Linked DNA regions of Homo sapiens: region 1 is linked to region 2. Evidence: promoter capture Hi-C in 16 types of primary human blood cells and fetal thymus (Javierre and others, 2016). All regions are on one chromosome and are shown on one strand. The core of a region is centred on a gene start or on the middle of the fragment in contact, and the rest is flanking DNA. Distances in the headings are between cores, read along the strand shown. Region 1 overlaps IQCJ-SCHIP1 (IQCJ-SCHIP1 readthrough). Region 2 holds the start of IL12A (interleukin 12A).

Region 1 (4,702 bases), core at 554-3,053, 730 kb before region 2:
CTATCTTAAACTATTTTAAAAGGCTGAATCCTAACAACTAGTCCGCATGAACTGTTAACTCCCAGAAGAGGTTAGACTGTGTTCAGTGACCCCCCCTATGAAAATCGAGATGTTAATCTCAAAGATCACAAGCCAGTCTGATATGATTTGGCTCTGTGTCCCTACCCAAATCTCACCTTGAATTGTAATGATCCCCACATGTCAAGGGTGTGACCAGATGTAGACAATTGAATCATGGGGCAATTTCCCCCATGCCGTTCTGTTGATAGTGAGTTCTCAGGAGGTCTGGTGCTTTTACATGGGGCTTCCCCCTTTACTCAGAAGAGGTGCCTTCTGCCATGATTGTAAGTTTCCTGAGACCTCCCCAGCCATGCAGAACTGTGAGTCAATTAAACCTCTTTTCTTAATAAATTACCCAGTCTCGGGTATTTCTTCATAGCAGCATGAAAACGGACTAATACACAGTCCATGGGGGAATCACTTAGCTTATATTAAGAAGAGGTTTCCGTTATCCTGAGCAGAAGATAATTTATTTTTTCTGATACTAATCACAGAAAATAACTTCCTTAGGCGAAACCTGAAATAGCTGCCTAATGACATTACATTAATTCTCTGAGTAGTACGTAACACTTGAATAATCTTTGTCCATTTCTTTATTTATAATCTTTGTCCATTTCCTATTCCCTTCCACAGTATATAAAACCCATGATGTGGTGCTCTCGCCTGCCTTGTGCCCCACAGCAGGGCCACTGCATTTGGCCATGCAGACTGTGCTGCACATCACTGACACCTTCACCTTGCAGTCATGCAAAGGACTGCTCTGGAGCTGTGCACGGCAGAGTCCCTGTTCAGAGTCTACAGCTGACCCTGGCACAGAATGGCCCCTCAAAAATCACACATTGAGTGCATGCAGTAGTAGTCAGCCTATTTATTATTCTCATCTAAAATATAAGATGAAAAATTGAAAGAATTTGTTGTCTCATAAATCAAAGTACATTTACCTGTGCAAACTAGTTTGTTTTGACTGATGAATTTTATTATTAAGTTGACTCTTTTAGGCCGGTTGAGTGCAGTCAAGTCTGTGAAAGTCAAACCAGTAAGGTAGGGAGACAGTCTCCATGGCTGGATTGAAGTTAAAGTTCAGGTCTCCTGATTCACTACATCACATTCTGTATGTTCTACTTCCCTTGGCACCAAAGCCAATTCCTTCAGACTCCTTGTGAGTTTCTGAGTCTGTGGACCATGATCCAACAGTAATCATGTGTGTGCTGTTTTTTGTTTTGTTTTGTTTTTTCAGCATTCAGCGAGCATGGCGAGAGTACCTGCAGCGGCAGGAGCCCCTGGGGAAGAGGAGCCCGTCCCCACCCTCTGTCTCCTCAGAGAAGCTGAGCAGCTCTGTCAGCATGAACACCTTCTCCGACAGCAGCACACCCGTGAGTGTCATGTTTCTTTTTCTATGTCCTGACTTGACATTCAACTGAAAGCCTAGACTTTGGTTCTAAGAGAGAAATCTTGGGATGTGAGCAGGTGGTTTGTGACAGTGAAGATCTATGTAGCTTATTTGCTACCCAGGAACCCATGGTGAGAGTTTTGTCACCTCAAAATAAAGACACAATTCATAAGCACAAAGTGAACTTTATCAAGTCTGGAGAAAATAGATTGCATTTATGTGTTCTCATTTCTCTATTATGGAGGTATCTTTTTTGCTTTTCTTTATAATAGCATATTTCTTTTAGTATGTGCTGTGTGTTTCTTTTATTGTGTGGTGCTAATATGATAGAAGATAAGATTGGTTATAAGGAGTAGAAAGAGAACTTTTACCAGAAGAATTGAAAGTGGTCACACACTCAGGGGTTGCAACTTAAATGTCTCCAGGGGCCAGGTAAGTCACCCTCATGACTGAGGTGGCTGAGCTGTGCCCCTGGCTACACGGAGAACATAGACCTCACCTGAAGGGCAGCGCACTTGGCTCCTGACAATGTGACACCATGTGGCGATACAGGCAGGCATGGCCAAATGTGATTTTCTTTCTTCAGGACATGTCAGAAATCTGCATTTTTAAGTGTTAGCAGCCAGTAAGAAAATTTAAAAGGTAAAGTAAGCATGCCTACAGACCACAATTGACCTACAGGCCACCAGTTTAAGAAATCTGAGATAGAGAGTTAAGGAATAAGGGAATCTGCTGGAAGTCTTTATTTTTAAAAAACACCAAAAGTGGGAAGAAATCAGTGATGAGGGATTTATGAACCAGGATTTTGTGGATTTAAGCATTGTGATAATTTGTAACCAGTCACTGAAATGCTGAAAAGTTAGAGAAATGAAGTAATTACACAAGTATATTACTTCCAAAAATTTTTCTTTTACTTTTGGTTATCATGTTTATTCTGTGGTAAAAAGGTTTCCCAACACTCAACGCAATGTATTCTTTTTGGGATCAGGTAAAAGTTACTGTATTTGAAATGTTTTCAGATGGTTGCATTGCATATTCTTCAATAAATGGTTTTGCCTAGATATGGATTTAAAGAGAGAGAATAAGTTGAGTTTATAGCAGTGCAAATAAAAGTGGCAGAAGATCCATTTTTAATTGACAGCAGAAATTGAACATTTAGTGAATCTTCACTTTTTAAAACAATTATTTAGGGGAATGGCTTATCCTAACTGACCTCACTATCACTAGAGGGCACTCGTGAACTACACTGGAAAATGCCAGGGCTTCTCGTTTGTGTCTAACTCATGATTTGTGAGGTAAAAACTAAAGTGAGAATTGAATGTTTAAGATGTCTTTGCTGTAAATGCCAATAGAAAGTGCAAATTAGATGACTTTTGGATTTTATTTGAATGATGGAAACTCAATATTAGAAATCACTTTGTGAGTTAAATGTTTGGATTTACTTTTTTTGTACCTTCTCACAGCCCCAATTCACGACAATTCTCAATTGCTGCTGAATCCAGTGATATCTAAAAGTTTTAGTGTTGCTTTAGGGTGCTTAACCTTTCGGTTTTATTGGACTCCTATGAGAATATATGTTTGTTTTATATTTGTACGGCTGTACTGCTTCGATTCTAGCATAAGTGTTTTGTGCATAAATGCATGTTCTTCCCTGTTCATGAGTCATCAACTTCATTTATATCTCTGCACAGCTTCACTAACAGTTCTACTTTATTTAATTTAGCTTAGCCTCCTGATTCCTTGTTGGTTTTTAGTAGAAGATATTTCCTCCCTCAAATGTTCCCAGAAATTTGTTCTCCCATAAGGTATATCAGACTGAATTGGGGGTGCATCCTGTAGCCCCACCATATCATCATCCTTTAGCTCTGTGCTCATGTGCTGAGGATGACTGTATTCAGTGAATGGCAGTCTGGCTCACCCATGATTGCCTATAAAAAGTGAGAATCAATGCCTGTAATCCCAGCACTTTGGGAGGCTGAGGTGGGCAGATCGCTTGAGGTCAGGAGTTTGAGATCAGCCTAGCTAACATAGCGAAACCCTGTCTCTACCAAAAATACAAAAATTAGCTGGGTGTGGTGGCATGCACCTGTAATCCCAGCTACTTGGAAGACTGAGGCAGGAGAATGAACGGCTTGAAACCCAGGAGGCAGAGGTTGCAGTGAGCCGAGATTGCGCCACTGCACTCCAGCCTGGATGACAGAGGGGAAAACAAAAAAAAAAGAATTAGAATCAGAACAGATTTTCAAAAAGAATTAGCTGTCAGAAAGCAAGCAGGCCCTGCCCAGAATTCTAATAGAAGTTATTGATTATAACAATGACTTAAATATTGATAATGACAGTGATGTGACATTAAATGTAAAAAATAAAATATGAAAATATAAGATGTTGGGATGCTTCCAAGTCTCTGGTTTGTCACTTAGGTAAAATATCCAAGTCACAGTTTAAAAGAAAACTTTATATGTAGTTGTTTGGAGTTTAGTGAGCTAAGCTTGTTTTATCTGCTGTGATCATCAGTTTGCCAGGGCCCCTGTTGGGAAGATTCATCCTTACATCTCTTGGAGGTTGCAGTCACCTGGGGACAAGTTGCCTGGTGGAAGGAAGGTGATTCTTCTCTACCTTGACCAGCTTGCCAGACCCACTGGGTTCATACATACTCTCAAGGAGCCCCAGATAGAAAGACTTGGTTTTCTCACCCTCCAGTGAATGGACCTCAAGTTTATGGAGGGAATAGGATGATCCCTGGCCTACACTGACTAAGCCTGTCATCAAGAAATGAGCTTCCTCTAACAACCATGAGTCCATTTGGAACTTCTGTGTTAAAAGCCTTCAGTCCAAGTCAAATGTTGTCAGTGAGCTGTGTCCCTGGGGAGTTCTTTATGCCCTGCCTCTTGCTTGATCTTTTCCAGGTTGTTGAACCTCAGCCCTCTTTCTCTGGGTTTAATCTATTGCTGTTACTGCCTAGACAATTTTCTATCTTCTCATATCTGATCAACTGACTGTCTTGTCCCAAGTCCCTTCCTTCCTTCTACTAACCTCTAACACAACCTTAATGGAGGCCAACAAGCCCTTACCTAACTTCTGGACATTGCCAGCTGCTCTGCAGCCCCACGCCCATAACTGCAATTATTGCCTATCTCAACTATCTACCCCAGGCATGCACTACACAGGAAATCAGCTCACTAATCTGGTTGAGTTCCTGTGTGGAGCTGATAATGATGCTTTTGCATGCTTCTGCTCTGATTGTTTTGGCTA
Region 2 (4,784 bases), core at 2,285-4,784:
TCCTTGTTTTTAGACATTGAAAATATTGGTTTTAGACACTGAAAAATATCTTCTCTCAATCTGTCAGCTGTCTGTTCATTTGGTTCATGCATAGAGGAAATGTGTAAAACAGAAATCTTCATTTTTATGTAATCCAATTGATAGGTATTTTGCCTTATGGTTTGGAGCTTTAGAAGTTTTAAAAAAGTCCTTCCCACTTATAAGTGACAAAGACAGTCCTCTATATTTTCTTCTACTACTGTAACAATTTTACTTTTCACATTTGGTCTTTAATTCACTTCCAAATGGATTCACCTCTGTTGTTTTAGATTGGAGTCCAGTTTTATTTTTCATCATACGCTGAACATTTTCTCTTTTTAAAAAAATTTTTTGTAGGGAGTTTTTGCTCAGACTGGCCTTGAACTACTGACCTCAAGCAATTCTCCTGCCTTGACCTCCCAAAGTGCTGGGATTACAGGTGTGAGCCATTATGCCCAGCCCATTGAGTATTTTCTACTAAATATTGCATGTTTTCCTCATTGATCAGGGAATCATCTGTATTATCTTATACTTAATACCCAAATATACAAATCTATCTATAATTTCTCTACTCTGTTTCAATGGTCCATATGCCTGATCTGTTGCAAAGATCACTACTTTAATTTCTATGGCTTTAAATTATGTCCATATGTGATAGGGTTAGTCCCCCTTTTCATTATTCCCTTAGCATTTTTACTTAAGGCCAGGAACAGCAGCTCACGCCTGTAATCCCAGCACTTTGGGAGGCCAAGGTGGGTGGATCACTTGAGCCCAGGAGTTTGAGACCAGCCTAGGCAACAAAACTAGACTCCGTCTCTACAAAATACAAAAATAAAAATTAGCTGGACATGATGGTGTTGCCTGTGGTCCAAGCTACTCAGGAGGCTGAAGTGGGAGGATCACTTTAGCCCAGGAGGTCAAGGCTGCAGTGAGCTGTGACTGTGCCACCACTACACTCCAGCCTGGGTGATACAGTAAAACCATGTCTCAAAAAAAATTTTTTTAACTTAGTCATAGATTTTATTACATCTGTATTTTAGAGTAGGCTTATTATTAAGTTTCTGAGAAAATTTATTTGTAGCTTGTATTGGAATTACATTGAGCATGTGAATTAACGAAAAGAGGCTTAAGCTTTCTATATAGAGAAACCTTCCACCCAAGGGTATAGAATTATTTAATTAAATCACACTATATTCTTGACTGAACTTTAAAATTTTTCTCCAAACACTATTCTGTAGTTATCCAAGCTCATGTAATAATCATAATAACTCTATACTGTAGGTACTTTTATTATCATCATTTAACAGATGAGGAAACTGAGCCCAGAGAGATAAATAACTCACCTAAGAACACACAGCAAGTAAGTAGCAGAACCTGGATTAACATAGTTTAGTCCATACTCTTAGCCATTATACTGCCTCTGTATCTACAGTCAGTTACTTTATAGTTTGGCTGCTTCTATGCATGTCATCTTGTTTTTATTACATTTTCTGATGGATTGTTGCAGATACAAAGAAAATCGGCTGATTTTTTTTAAGTTGATATGTGTATTGCATGATGTTGTTAAATTCTCTTCTTAGTTCTAATAGTCTATTAATTTTTTTTCTTTTTGTATATCAACTGTAAAAAGTGACAGTTTTACCTTTTCTTTTCCAATGTTTAAAGCTCTCATTTCTTTTTCTTTCCTTATAGCATTGGCCGAGACCTCCACGACAATGCTACACACTGTGAAGTAGTGATTGTGAGCTAAGACTGTCACTTATAGAAAAATCATGTATTCCTAGAAGAAGGTTTTCATTTCATCTTAGCTAGAGGACATGGAGCACTTCAGGAAACTATTTCACAAAAATGTAAATTAGAAACTGTGTCTGGTAGCCAATAATCCATTTTTAACAGTGGCCCTGTGCTCATCTAAGCAACAGAAATTACTTTTGTATAGGAGATGGCCCTTCCAGGGGAGAAACAGCTCAGTTGTGATACACTTGTCTTCATCCTGACTTTAAGTACATTTAACTCCACACTAAACCCTTGTGGCCACAACACAGCTCTGCACCTGTCATTTGCTCTAGACAAACTGCTAAACGCAATTGTTTCTGACAATGGATTACTCTGTATCCCGTGGGGGAATTCTCAGACAGCAGCATTAGAAGGGGCCTTAGAGATCAACCATTTCTCTTATTTTACACACACCTAAAACTCCCTACAGCCGTGCTTCATCAGCTTCGAGCAGATGAGCCACCCAGAAGGCAGCTCCAGTTATTAGGTCCTAGGGCCTGGGTGTAGTCAGGCCCTTTGGAAGCTCCAAGTCAGAGATCAAACACATCCTCCCCACTACCCACGCCTAGGGTGACTAATGCCTGTGGGAAAAACAACTGAACTAAAAAGTCCCACAGGAACCTCAAACCCAGCACATCCAAAATGGAACTTCTCACCATCTCCTCCAAACTCAGTCCTCTTATACAGTAATCCCTGTAAAGCTAGAACAATCTCCATTCCCCATTCTCAGGGCCTTCCTCTCCCGCTCACCTGAGGAGCTACCAAGCCTTGGCCCACAAGCCCTCTGAGAGTCCCTCCTGCCCACCCTGTGTTCTCCATACTGAATAAGGACTTGGCCACACCTTGTCAACTCTTCCCTCTGCTCTACTCCTGACCCCTGGATCCATCCTTCATGCTGTGGCTGAAGGGATCCCCCCATCATGCAAATTCTGCCACATCTCCCGCCTAAAACCCAGGAAGACTCCCCACTACTCTCAGCACAGAAAGTACACTCCTTAGTATGGCATCCCCTGCCCTCATGGCATGGCCCCATCCAGCCCTCCAGCCTCACACCCTGCAAGGACACCTAGACCCCCACCTCCCTCAACCCTTCATGACTGCGCTTCTGATCCCTGTTTCCCCTGGCTAGACCCTGCGTGCCCTCCCGCTGGAAGCGGTCTAATGCCTGCTTGTTTTTAACACTCAGGTTGGGGCCCCTGCCTGCTCCCGGGAGCCTTTGCTGACTCCTGGACCCCGTTGCTCCGGCTGAGCGTGGGCTCTTTCTCTAGGTCTTTCCTCCCAGGACTCTGTGTATTCATCCTATCGTTAAACTGGATTCTCTACAAGAGTAATAATTGCAGAGTCAGCCAGCTCTCATCCCTTTTCAGGTTTCAGAAAAGACCTGTGAACAAAACGCCTTGAGTCTGATTTAGTGTGGCAATGCCCCAAGGGTCCTGTTCTCCCTGGGTGTCCTGCACCTGGTGCAACGTCGGCCTGGCATCTAGTGAGCCATCTAAAGGAACGATGATGAGTGAATGATTTGCCTACCCCTTCCAGTACTAGGCTGGAGGTCGTGGTTAGGGCCCATCCCTACGCAGGACATGCAAAGTGGGAGGCACTCCTCTCTCTACGTCGGCAGGGGGCGCTGCACAGCTGCGGGGCGGGGTAGCTTAGACACGGGGCGTCCGGCTAAGGCCGGGGACCCAGGGTGGTGGGCGGGGTGTCCCGCCCGCCTGTGGACCCCGCGCAGTAACTGCGAACATTTCGCTTTCATTTTGGGCCGAGCTGGAGGCGGCGGGGCCGTCCCGGAACGGCTGCGGCCGGGCACCCCGGGAGTTAATCCGAAAGCGCCGCAAGCCCCGCGGGCCGGCCGCACCGCACGTGTCACCGAGAAGCTGATGTAGAGAGAGACACAGAAGGAGACAGAAAGCAAGAGACCAGAGTCCCGGGAAAGTCCTGCCGCGCCTCGGGACAATTATAAAAATGTGGCCCCCTGGGTCAGCCTCCCAGCCACCGCCCTCACCTGCCGCGGCCACAGGTCTGCATCCAGCGGCTCGCCCTGTGTCCCTGCAGTGCCGGCTCAGCATGTGTCCAGCGCGCAGTGAGTACTCAGCCCGCCAGGTCTTTGGCTCGCTCGGGTGCGGAGGGGCGGCTGCTTGGGAAGAGTGGGTAGAAACTCAAGTCTGCCTAAGGAGAGACTGGAACAGCAGCAGCCGTCTCCTGCAAAGAGGAATAAGAATAGGGGTCTCACCGTGTGCTAAATAGGGCATGTCTCTTTTCATCTCGAAACAGCCTGATGAGCTATCATTATGCCCACTTCGTAGAGGAGAAACTGAGGCCCAGCGTGGGAGATTTCCTGCTTTCCTGCCTAGGGTCCCTCAGCTACAAACAGAAGGCAGATCCTAGCCAGTTCTAAAGTCAGGCTTGGCCGGGTGCAATGGCTCACGCCTGTAATCCCAGCACTTTGGGAGGCCAAGGCGGACAGATCTCCTGAGGTCAGGAGTTCAAGACCAGCCTGACCAACATGGTGAAACCCCGTCTCTACTAACAAATACACAAATTAGCCGAGTGTGGTGGTGGGTGCCTGTAATCCCATCTACTCGGGAGTCTAAGGCAGGGAAAATTGCTTGAACTCGGAGGTGGAGGTTGCAGTGAGCCAAAATCGTGCCACTGCACTCCAGTCTGGGCCACAGAGTGAGACTCCGTCTTAAAAAAACAAAAAAAGTCAGGCTTTCTCACTCCACTGTTTTTAAAACACTGGGTCCCAAGTCTGACTCAGCCACTTCACCACCTGGTCTGGGTTTCCCTGATCAAAAACATGTAGGCTTTCTCTGGGTGAGTGTTGGGTTCAACACCCTTGTCCAAGCTCATCTCTAGACCCTCACAGGGAGCTGGCTTCTAGCCCTAGAATAGAGTGGCGCTTTGTAATAACTCGAGTCATCTCTCAGGTGTTGAAGGAAAAGTGTTGGAAATGGGTTGAGGGAGGTGGGTGCCAAGCATGAATGGATGGG

What was found. The method cuts DNA at HindIII sites, captures the fragments that hold promoters and counts their contacts. A CHiCAGO score of 5 or more calls a contact.
Region 1: a contact is called between a fragment that was not itself captured here and the fragment with the promoter of IL12A in region 2, in 1 of 17 cell types (endothelial precursors). The highest score is 6.5, in endothelial precursors.

Annotation. Positions count from the first base shown.
Region 1 is chr3:159,261,251-159,265,952 of GRCh38, forward strand. IQCJ-SCHIP1 (IQCJ-SCHIP1 readthrough) reads left to right here. Exons shown (of 10, transcript NM_001414413.1): 4 at 1,298-1,433. IQCJ (IQ motif containing J) reads left to right here. Exons shown (of 4, transcript NM_001042706.3): 4 at 1,298-2,497. The coding sequence ends at 1,481. Among named protein-coding and RNA genes, the nearest start is that of SCHIP1, 9.6 kb to the right of the region's middle. The HindIII fragment of the contact is 4,266 bases long and covers 1-3,936 here.
Region 2 is chr3:159,985,301-159,990,084 of GRCh38, forward strand. IL12A (interleukin 12A) reads left to right here and starts at 3,535. Exons shown (of 7, transcript NM_001397992.1): 1 at 3,535-3,874. The coding sequence starts at 3,859. IL12A-AS1 (IL12A antisense RNA 1) reads right to left here. Exons shown (of 10, transcript NR_108088.1): 9 at 3,797-3,993. RefSeq lists enhancers at 1,194-2,393, 3,245-3,745, 3,746-4,246, 3,746-3,795 and silencers at 3,306-3,505, 3,576-3,625. The HindIII fragment of the contact is 5,775 bases long and covers 1,148-4,784 here.